3 separate regions of the Homo sapiens genome follow, and all the other regions are linked to region 2. The links are contacts of gene promoters, found by promoter capture Hi-C in human tissues and cell types (Jung and others, 2019). All regions are on one chromosome and are shown on one strand. The core of a region is centred on a gene start or on the middle of the fragment in contact, and the rest is flanking DNA. Distances in the headings are between cores, read along the strand shown. Region 1 has its middle 22 kb from the start of LINC02812. Region 2 holds the start of LRP8 (LDL receptor related protein 8). Region 3 holds the start of LINC02812 (long intergenic non-protein coding RNA 2812).

The links. The method cuts DNA at HindIII sites, captures the fragments that hold promoters and counts their contacts. A contact is called where the count stands out against the background at its distance.
Region 1: a fragment that was not itself captured here is called in contact with the fragment with the promoter of LRP8 in region 2 in 2 of the 25 tissues and cell types used here (aorta and hippocampus).
Region 3: a contact is called between a fragment that was not itself captured here and the fragment with the promoter of LRP8 in region 2, in 4 of the 25 tissues and cell types used here (mesenchymal stem cells, mesendoderm cells, stomach and 1 more).

The regions. Positions count from the first base shown.
Region 1 is chr1:53,388,596-53,392,150 of GRCh38, forward strand. No RefSeq gene overlaps it. Among named protein-coding and RNA genes, the nearest start is that of LINC02812, 22 kb to the left of the region's middle. The HindIII fragment of the contact is 5,801 bases long and covers 1-3,555 here.
Region 2 is chr1:53,326,820-53,330,047 of GRCh38, forward strand. LRP8 (LDL receptor related protein 8) reads right to left here and starts at 1,251. Exons shown (of 19, transcript NM_004631.5): 1 at 970-1,251; 2 at 54-173. The coding sequence starts at 1,093. LRP8-DT (LRP8 divergent transcript) reads left to right here and starts at 1,414. Exons shown (of 3, transcript NR_131923.1): 1 at 1,414-1,556. RefSeq lists silencers at 1-232, 748-917, 968-1,117, 1,188-1,387 and enhancers at 298-407, 1,458-1,687. The HindIII fragment of the contact is 17,458 bases long and covers 1-3,228 here.
Region 3 is chr1:53,366,082-53,369,607 of GRCh38, forward strand. It overlaps LINC02812 (long intergenic non-protein coding RNA 2812), which reads right to left and starts at 2,068. Exons shown (of 2, transcript XR_001738058.2): 1 at 1,925-2,068; 2 at 1-1,196. The HindIII fragment of the contact is 5,363 bases long and covers 1-3,526 here.

The sequences.
Region 1 (3,555 bases), core at 1,052-3,551, 63 kb after region 2:
TACTCTCAGCTACTCGGGAGGCTGAGGCACAAGAATTGCTTGAACCCAGGAGGTGGAGGCTGCAGTGAGCCGAGATTGCGCCATTGCACTCTAGCCTGGGCGACAGAGTGAGACTTTGTCTCAAAACAAACGAAACAAAACAAACAAACAAAAAAAGAATCTGTTAAGAAAATGAAAAAGCAAGCCACAGACTGGAAGAAAATATTTGCAAATTATATACCAACATAATGATGAGCGGTGCACAGCTTTGTGAATATACTAAAAGCCACTGAATTTTACATTTTAAAAGGATGAAATTTATGGTATGTGAATTATATCTCAATAAAGCTGTAAACAAAAACAGCATATATCCAACAAAGGACTTGTATTTAGACTATATAAAGAACCCTTGCAACTCAATAAGGTTATAAACTCAATTTTTAAAACTGAGCAAAAGATTTGAACAGACATTTCACCAGAGAAGATGTATGAATGGCAAATGAGCACATCGAAGATGCCCCGGATCATTGGGTCATTAAAAGACAGCAGATTAGAACCACAAGGAGACACCACTACACACCTGCCAGGACAGCTCGGATTTGTGTCCCATTGCGTCAGCCCCCAGGCAGCACAGTCAGTGTGGTGCACCAGCTCCCAGTGTGTGCAGGAGGCCATCTGCCTCTCCTCACCTACAATGTCCAGCCTGGCACTCCTAGTACCCACCTGCCATGTTAAGGAGTTCACTCCACCCCATTTGGCAAGGACAGTGTCTGGATCCCAGGCTGGGGGTGGGGGGAAGTGTGGGAGAAAGGGGAAGGGGAAGAAATAACAAAGGAGACTGGTGGATGGTGGCAGCAGTTGTGGCCCAGGGGTGGGGAGGGGGGTGGGTGAGTCTGGTTCCCAGCAGGCGCCAGCAGTGTCAGGGAGCTTGGGGGCTGTCTTAGTCCATTCAGGTGGCTATAACAAAATACTGTAGACTGGGTAATTTATAAACAATACCAATGTATTGCTCACAGTTCTGAAGGCTGGAAAGTCCAAGATTGAGGTGCTGGCAGGTTTGGTGTCTGGCGAGCGCCTGTTCCTTATGGACCGCAACTTCTTGCTGTGTCTTCATTTGGTGGAAGGAGCAAAGAAGGCCCCCTGAGGATCTGTTTTGTCTCTTTAATAGAGACGGGGTTTCACCATGTTGCCCAGGCTAGTCTCAAACACCTGGCCGGAAGTGATCCACCCTTGGCCTCCCAAGTGCTGGGATTATGGGTATGAGCCACCACGCCCGGCCCCGAGCATCTTTTTAAGGGCATGAGCCCCATTTATGAGGGTGGAACCCTCATGACTTAATCACCTCTTTATATTATCCCATTGGGTATTAGGTTCCAACATATGAATTTTGGGGGAACACCAACATTCAGATCACAGCAGGAGCCAGGAGGATGGGTAAGAATGAGCAGAACCAGCCAGTGTGAGGGCATGGACTCAGCAAGCCCTGAGGAAGAACAAAGGGCAGATCTGAGAACTTAGCAGGCAGCCTCAAAAGGACTTGAGGAGTAGCTGGATTTGAGTGGGTTTGGGGGACAGAGAGAAGGACCTGCCAGGGGGTCAAGATCATGTAATCCACCAAGGCAGAGAGTATGAGGAGCAGGAACGTGAAAAGACACCAGCTGCCACATCCCAATTGTGCAGTCTGGGTGCCCCTGGGCATCCTGGTGCTTGCCCAGTGGGCCACTGGTCGTGTGTGTCTGCGGGTCAGAGAGCTCCAGGCCTGAGCAGACAGCATGATGGTCAGCAGAGGGAAGCGTCTGGAAGCCTTGAGAGTGGAGACATTGCCTCGGGAGGAGGCAGAGGAGCCAGGGCCAGGTGCCAGGGGACACATACATTAAGGGAACACCAGGCTCTCGAAAAGGGAAATGAAACCAAGTGGCCTGTTTTCCTGCCAGCTCCTCCCTGGCTGTGACTTGAGACAGCAGAAGGAGGAGAAGGGGAGTGGGGAGGACTCTGGCCCTGAAATTGGAGGAGACAGGCCTCACAGAGGCACCAGACAAAGGCACCCCCTCCAAGGAACTCACCAACCTGGTTTCCTAATGTTCCAATCTATGTGTTTTTTTGTTTTGTTTTGTTTTTTTTTTAAAGAAGTTGGGCCAAATTCCAATCTGTAGTCCACCAGCCCTTCTGCTCTTTCCCTTTTCCTTCACTCATGGACCCAGAAGTTACCGAGTGCCTACCACCAGGCTGCTGCTGGAATACCCTGGGGAATGAATCAGACATAGTCTCTGCCCTTAGGGACGGGCGTTCCAGGCTGGTGGCAGCCAGGTTAACAAGGGGGCTGGCAGTGACTCCCACAGGGCTCTCTGGAGGGTCAGCTCCAAACCCTTTTCTTCTCTGTTTCCAGCATTTTGTTCTCCCTTAACATAGGTGCCCCTCAGCGCATGGGCCCGCCTCCTCTGCCACACTCTCCCATCTCCCGGGGAACATCTCCACCCTCGAAGCTTTCAGCCGCTCCCCTCTGCTGACCACTCAGCTTACTCAGGCCCAGAGTTTTTTCCTTTCTTTCCTTCTTTTTTTTTTTTTTTTTTTTTTTTGAGACAATGTCTCCTTCTGTCAACCAGGCTGGAGTGCAGTGGCAGGATCACGGCTCACTGCAGCCTCCACCTCCCAGGCTCAAGCAATCTTCGTGCCTCAGCCTCCCAAGTAGCTGGGGCTACAGGCATATGCCACCACACCTAGCTAATTTTTTTCATTTTTTGTGGAAACAGGGTTTCATCATGTTGCCCAGGCTGGTCTTGAACTCCTGGGCTCAAGCAATCTTCCCACTTTGGCCTCCTATAATAAAATGCTGGGATTATAGGTGTGAGTGACCACACTCGGCCTCCTGGAGCTTTCTGACCCTCAGACACACACAGCCAGAGGCCCACTGGACAAATGCCAGGATGCCCAGGGGCACCCAGATTACATATTTGCCAAGTGGAAGTTGGTGTCTTTCCACATGCCCACACCTCATAGTCTCTGCCTCTGTAAATGGAAGACTGTCCCCTGCCCCCACTAACTCATCCTCACTTCTCTCTCTCCCTCTTCCAACAAATCCAGTCACTCAGGGAGTCCCACTGACAATGCCTGCGGAGTTCTTCTTGGATCTGGCTACATCTCTCTCCCTAGTACCTGTTCAAGTTCAGGCCCTCATATCTGATTGGTTCCCTCTCACTTCCATCTTTCTTTGGTCTTAAATCTCCCTAGTATGTAGTATGTAGTATGCAGCAGATAGGAGATTTTTAGTTGCAAGTGACATAAACCTAACTCAAATTAGCATAAGCAAAAAATTGAATGTATTGGCTCACATAACTAAAAGGCTCAGGTTCGCTTCGGGCATGGCTGGATCCAGCAGATAAGCAAAGTCAAGAGGACCTGGTCCCTCTGCTTTGCCATTTTCTTAATCAACATAATTCCCTGGCACACTCTCTCCATGGGCTGGTCTCATTTTTCCCACATCAAGGCCAGCAGAGAGAGATTTTTTTTTTTTTTTTTTTTTTTTTTTACAGATCTAACCAGAATCCAGCTGCATTTCATTGACTGTGACTGGGTTGC
Region 2 (3,228 bases), core at 1-2,500:
CCCCACCGTTCCTTTTCTCTCCCCGGGTCTGAGCTCCCTGGCCCGCCACTCACGGCAGTCGTCCTCGTCGCTGTGGTCTAAGCAGTCATCGTCCTCGTCGCATCTCCACACAGAGGGGATGCAGCGCTCGTTCCGGCACTGGAATTGGTCCTTTTCGCAATCCTTGGCCGGCCCTGCGAGGGGGAGGGAGCGTGAGCTGGATCAGCGGACTCGGCCCCACTCCCCACCATGCAGTCCGGGCCACCCGGAAGGACCCGCTGGGGAGGAGGAAAGGGGGCGATTATGGAGACCCCGGGGGCTTCAGGCACACTCCATCCAAAGGGAGGGCACGATGGCAGGGGTTCCGTGGATGTCGGGCCGCTCGGTGGCACGGCGAGACCAGGCACCTACTTAAAGTGTCACACGACCTGGGTATACCCTCCATTCAGACGCACTCACCCGCACACGCGACCCATAGTCAGAGATCTGCTCAGATACAGCCCATAGGGAGTCCCCGCGCCCGCGCGCCAGGCGCAGTGGGAGCCGCAGGCACATCACCCTGGCAGGCAGCCCCCTCTCTCTCCGCCGCGCGCAGGGGTCTGCGGAAACGCATTGTCAAGCGGAGAAGCCGCCCGGCTCTGCTCATTACCGCCGCGGAGCGCGCGTGTCAAATAAACCCCAACGGCGAGAATCACACAGCTCATCCGGAACCATGAATGGCCGCCCCTCCGGCAAAGTTCCCCGCTGGCCAAGCCCCCCTGCACCCCTCCCCCAAGATCCGCTGCCCAGAGGGCAGAGCCCTCAACACCGAGGCCCGCGGGGGCGGGGGGCCGAGGGCAAATTCAGGAATAGCCGCTTCGCGTGGAGCCTGTCCGCCCGGGAGCCCCCGATAGCCCCGGGTTCTGGACCCCTCCCCGCTCCGGCCTCCCGGCCGCGCTTTGTTGGTGGCTAGGGCGGAGCAGAGCCGAGTCAGAGACCGGCTGCACGCACCTTGGCCGCCGAGCAGCGGATCAGCCGCTGCCGCCGCAAGATGCTGGAGCTGCAGCAGCAGCAGCAGCAGCAGCAGCAGCAGCAGCGCCAGAAGCCGGAGAGGGCCCGGCTCGGGGAGGCCCATGGCGGGCCCGGGGCTCCGGCCGCCGCGCCCCGCGCTCCCCGCGCCGCCGCCGCCGCGTCTCAGCCCTCCGAGTCCTTGCCGCGGCGCCGGGGTTGCCGCTGCCCCCGCCGCCGCCGCCGCCGCCGCTGCCGCCCGCCCCGGCTCCTCGGCTGCATTTCAAGCAGGTTCGGTGACGCTCGGCGGCGGGGCGGGCTCAGGCTGGGCGCGCGGCCCCGGCCCTGGGCGGCCGCCGCCAGCGCGCGCGCTCCCTCCCGCTGCCGCCTCCGCCCCACGCTCCCCCTGCCGCCGCCTCCTCGCCCTCCTCCCTCCTGTCTTTCGTCCACTCTTCTCTCAGCGGGCGCTCCACGGCCCTGCTCTGGGCTCGCCTGAGTGCTGGGCTCTGCAGACGCAGGGATGGGCCAGGCGAGCCCCTCACCACGGAGGTAGCAGGTCCAGAGGAAGCAGCAGAGGCTTCCTGGAGGAGGTGACAGGCGGATCAGAGGCTGAGGGATGTCTAGGAGTGAGCCTGGGCGGGAGGGGAAATGATGTTACAGGACGAACAGGCCTGTGCAGTGTGCGCGTGGGGCGGGGGAGGGAGGGATAGGGGTGAGATCCCAAGATGTGGATGAGCAGGGAGAAGCTGGGGGCGCAGGGCTGGACCCCTGCACCTGTCATGGGCTCCGGCTGGGATATTATAAATCCCTGTGGCTGGTTTGGTTTCCGTGCCATGTGCATCTGTGCATGTTGCACGCTCATGTGATCATGGGGACGTGAGGCAGGTGGATTGGGCCTGGTGCACAGACTATTCATCGTCGTTAAGTACGCTCCAGGCCCCTAGTCAGAGGGGCAACCAGGGGGGGCCCGCAGGGAAGACAAGGAATCCTCGCTGTGATGGAGAAAGACGAGGTCTGTGGGGCGGGCCGGGCGGGGGGGAAGGGGAGGGCACGGAAGGGATGCCATCCCTGCCGCTAGGGGCCGCGCACCTAGGCCCGCGCTGTCCGCCCCTGCTGTCTTCTGCAGGAAGGAGAAGGCACCTCTTCCTCTGGAGGGCTGCAGCCCGCCTCACCCACACTGGGGAGAATGGGTGCGGAGAGCGAGCTGGGATTCGATTTCAGCCTCAGACTTGTGAGCCGGGTCCAACCCACACAACCTTCTTTAGAGAATGAGATTCCAGGGCATTGGCCACTCAAAACAACCGGCCTGCAGGTGCCAAGAGCCAGTGTTAGGTCCACCCTCCCTCCCCTCTTGCCCCTTCACCTCCCTCGCGGATGGGCAGGTGCTGTTAGCCCTTGGCCTGGAAACCACCCTGTCTCCTCAGCAGCCTCCTGAGCCGTAGTCCCCCAAAGGGCAGCCCAGCGGCAATATCTGTGGCCACCCCACCAGAAAGGGACTTAGATCCCCAGAGAGCCCGGCACGGTGCTCCTGCCATCATCACCCCTCCTGTCCCTTGTTCATTCAGTCATTCAGCAAGCATTTCAGGCCCTGTTCTGTGCCAACCCTGTGCTGGGCCTGCGGGTACCAAGGTGAATCAGGCATGGTGCCAGCCCCGGAGAGGTCCCTGACCTGTGGGGAGACAGACCATTAGCACACAGACAACGAAATGCAGGCGTCCTTTCACCTATATGTGCCAAACGCCCTTCAAGGCTCAAGGATACAGTGGAAACAGATAAGGTTCCTCCCTGCTCTCCTGCAGTTATGTCTTAGTTGGAAGAGATACACACAAAAGCAGGAAAACAAAAGATTATTTCAGGTCATCATAACTTCTATGGAAAAAACAAAACAGACCCAGGTGAGAGCAATGGGGGTAACTGTAGAGGTGATCAGGCAAGGCCTCACAGAGGAGGTGACATTTCACTGAATGGCAAGATGGATCCTGACCCATGAAGATCAGGCGGAAGGGCATTCTTGGCAAAGGGAATGGCAATCAAGGTGGGCCGGGGCCTGATGACAGGGAAGGAGTGGGTGCCTCAGGTGAGGCTGGAGGGAGTTGGCAAGGCCCTGATCACCAGGGCTTTGTAGGCCACAGCTGGGAGTTTGGATTCTGTGTCAAGCACAATGGTGCCTGGGACTGTGGGATAAAGATAGAAGCCCGTCTTGCTGCCCAAACTGACCTATCCAACTCAGTCCCTCCTCCTCCTCCACTCTGTGGTCTTAGG
Region 3 (3,526 bases), core at 808-3,307, 40 kb after region 2:
GGCTGTAACCATGTCACTCCCATTTTTACTTCTTCTTTTTTTTTTTTTTTTGAGACAGAGTCTCACTCTGTTGCCCAGGCTGGAGTGCAGTGGTGCAATCTCGGCTCACTGCAACCTCTGCCTCCTGGGTTCAACCAATTCTCCTGCCTCAGCCTCCCGAGTAGCTGGGACTACAGGCGCCCGCCACCACACCCAGATAATTTTTGTATTTTTAGTAGAGAGGGGGTTTCACCATGTTGACCAGGATGGTCTTGATCTCTTGATCTCATGATCCGCCCACCTCAGCCTCCCAAAGTGCTGGGATTACAGACGTAAGCCACTGCGCCTGGCCCTATTTTTGCATCTTTACATCACCTTCTTCTCTAGGTGTGTGTCTCTCCTTCAGCCTCACTCCCCCCGCTTTTTTTTCTTTTTGAAACAGGGTCTTGCTCTGTTGTCCAGGCTGTAGTGCAGTGGCGCAACACTGCTCACTGCAACCTCTGCCTCCCAGACTCAAGCCATCCTCCCATTTCAGCCTCCTGAGTAGCTAGGACTATAGGCATGTGCCACCACGTCTGGCTAGTTCTTTGTGGGGTTTTTTTCTGTTTTTTTTTTTTTTTTTTGTAGAGATGGAGGGTCTCACTACGTTGCCCAGGCCAGTCTTGAACTCCTGGCCTCAAGCTATTCTCCTGCCTTGGCCTCCCAAAGTGCTGGGATGACAGGTGTGAGACACCACACCCAGCCCTGCCTTACTCTTGTAAGGACACTTGCCATTGGATTGAGGGCCCACTTGCATAATACAGGATGATCTCTTCATCTCAAAATCCCTAATGACATCTACAAAGAATTTCTTTCCAAATAAGGCAATATTTACGGGTTCTGGGGCTTAGGACATGGACCTATCCTTTTGGGGCCAGCCATCCAGCCCCCTACAGAGTCCAGTGTGGCTGGTTCCAAAGGTCCCTTCTTGGCTCGCCTTGCAGGCGGGTTCCTCTTCTCCATGGGGTGGTTGGTCCTTGCTCCACATGGAGTTGAGGGGCTTGGGGACTGGCCACTGAAGGCATGCTGCTCACAAAAGCAGTCTGTGGGCACCCTCCCAGACTCAGGATCACCGTGCTGGCTGGAACATAAATGGGCCCTGTTGCAGGCGGGGTTGTCCTGGAACAGATCTTGAGATAGACTTTGACATGGAGGATATTTACTAGAAAAGTCAACACCTGGGGAAGAGATAGGGAGGAAGCAGGATTTGGTAGAGAGAAGGTGAACAGTGACGCAGCTCCAACGGAGTTTCAGCCATCCCTGGAGCCCATGTGGCCCATCTAAATTATCCCATGGGAGGTCAAAATGTCTGCACCTTTACATCGTAGCCATGATCAGTCGCTGGTCAGCCCTTCACGAAACGAGGGCGATGATAGCTCCTAACTCCTAGGTCAGAAGGGTTAAGTGAAATGTCCTGAGCGCTGACAGCTGCCATACACAGCCACCCCTGGAGGGAGTTCTATGGTTATCTTCCCCTTACAGAGGGGAAAAGCCAGCCTCAGAGATGACAAGCAACTTCCCAAGGCCACCCAGCTAGTAATGGCAGAGCCAGGACTTAAACTGAGGTGTGCCTGATGCAGAGCTTGAGTCCCTGAGAGCTGCTGGGGGAACCCAGAAGCCCGGCAGGTGCCTGGCTCCACACCCAGCTCCCTGGCACTCACTTCCCCACACCCCATGCCCTGTGCAGCGTCCTCCCAGTCACTTCCCATCCCCATGCTCCAAGCCCCAGGGCTATCTCCCCAGGGGACCCCATCAGGGGTTGCCTGGCCTCCCTCCCTTCCCCACAACCAGTGATCCAGCCTCCCAGGACCCCTCACAATTCTCCAAGCACGGCCCTCACCTGCCTGCCCCCATGCCCTCTGTCCCCAAGTCCTTTTTCCCCATGCCCTCTTTCCCCTTGTCTTACCTTTTAAAGTGGTACACAGAGGCCTAACTGTCCCAGTCAGATGCAACCTTCTTCACGAAACCCTTTTGACTGGCACTCTCCCTCCCTTCTGTCTCCCAAAAGACTCAATGTCTATCTCAATCACAGCTGAGTTGCCTTGGGTCTGATATGAATCTGCTTCCCCCAACAAACCAAAGCTTCCGGGGAGGGGAGAAAGTACAAGTTAGGAGCTCTCACTCAGCCAGCTGCATGGCCCGAGGCTGGCTGCTTCCTCTTTTCTGAACCTTAGATTGCTTATCTGTAAAATGGAGCTAACAGAGCACATTGCCAGGCACAAAAAAGGTGCTCAGTAAATGCTGTCTCTCAGGCTTTAGCCCGGGTGCAACTTTGTATCTGCCTCCAGGGCTGCAAACACTCCCTGCCCAGCTGTCTCTTTGCTTTTAATTGTCTATTTCCTCCACACTGCCAGTCCTCAGTTTCCCTTCTGTTAAACAGGCTGTCCTAACCATTCCACGCAACGTACCGTGTGGGGACTAGAAGAGGATTAGCCCAGCAGAGGCTTTGTGGGCATGTTGCTTCCTTCTTTTGCCCTTCCAACTGCCTGCCCTTTCCATCCCAGCAATGGATGGGCTGGGAGCCAGCTGGGCCCGGGTGCCTAGGCTCACCATGTGGCATCGGCCTCAGCCATTCCTCCCAGGGCCGCAGCCACTCTTCACCCCTAGGAGAAACTGTGGGGTCCTGGCAGGGGCGGGAGGCGGCTCTAGGGACGCAGCTCTGCCCTTGACTGGGAATGACGCCAAGGCTGCTGCTGCCTGCTGACAGTCTATCCTGCTGCCCAGTCCGCTGGCGGCAGACCCTCTCTCTTCCTCCTCCCACAGTCCCACCCACAGCCTGAGCCCTGGGGTTCAGCCTGCTCAGGTCCACTCTGACGGGGCTAAGCAGAGCTCCCCAGTCCAGGAAGCCCAGACACCATCAGGCTCTGTGGCCCTGGCAAGTCCTGCCAGTGTTTAGGAGGTGACCAGAACCAGTTCTGACAACCCAAGAAGCTGGAGCACAAATACCCCTTCCTGAGCCTGCCACCTGCAGTGTGAAGGGCCCGAGCAGTGACTCTGAAGCCAGCCTTCACCACAATCAGCTGTGTCTCTGGGCAAGTTATCTAATCCTCCGTGCGTCTTTGTCTGTAAAGTGGAGTAACAGTGTCTACCCCGCAGGGCTGGTATGTGGACTAAATGAGGTAATACACAGGTGACTCTCGGGACAACAGAGCCCCTGGGAAGCACTTCATGAGGATTAGCCATTATTATTTCACCTGTGTTCTGCATGTGGAGAGGGCAGCAACTATGGTCCCCACTGGCAGTAAGGCAACTGAGGCCCAGAAAGGGCCCACAATTGTGGCTGGGCCCCACCCCTGGCCTCTTCGTTTCCTAGGCTACCGCAGCATCCACCACACCAGCTCTCTACGTCAAGGTCCTCTGGGGTTCATGAGCACCTCCTGTGTGCCGAGCGCTAGAGGGTCTGGCACCAGCCCAGACTGGACAGCTCTGAGGCCATAGGAGGAGAGCTTGGGCTTCACTGCATGCAGGTGGTTTATGGTAAAGCCACAGGCTGGGTGCAGTGGCTCAC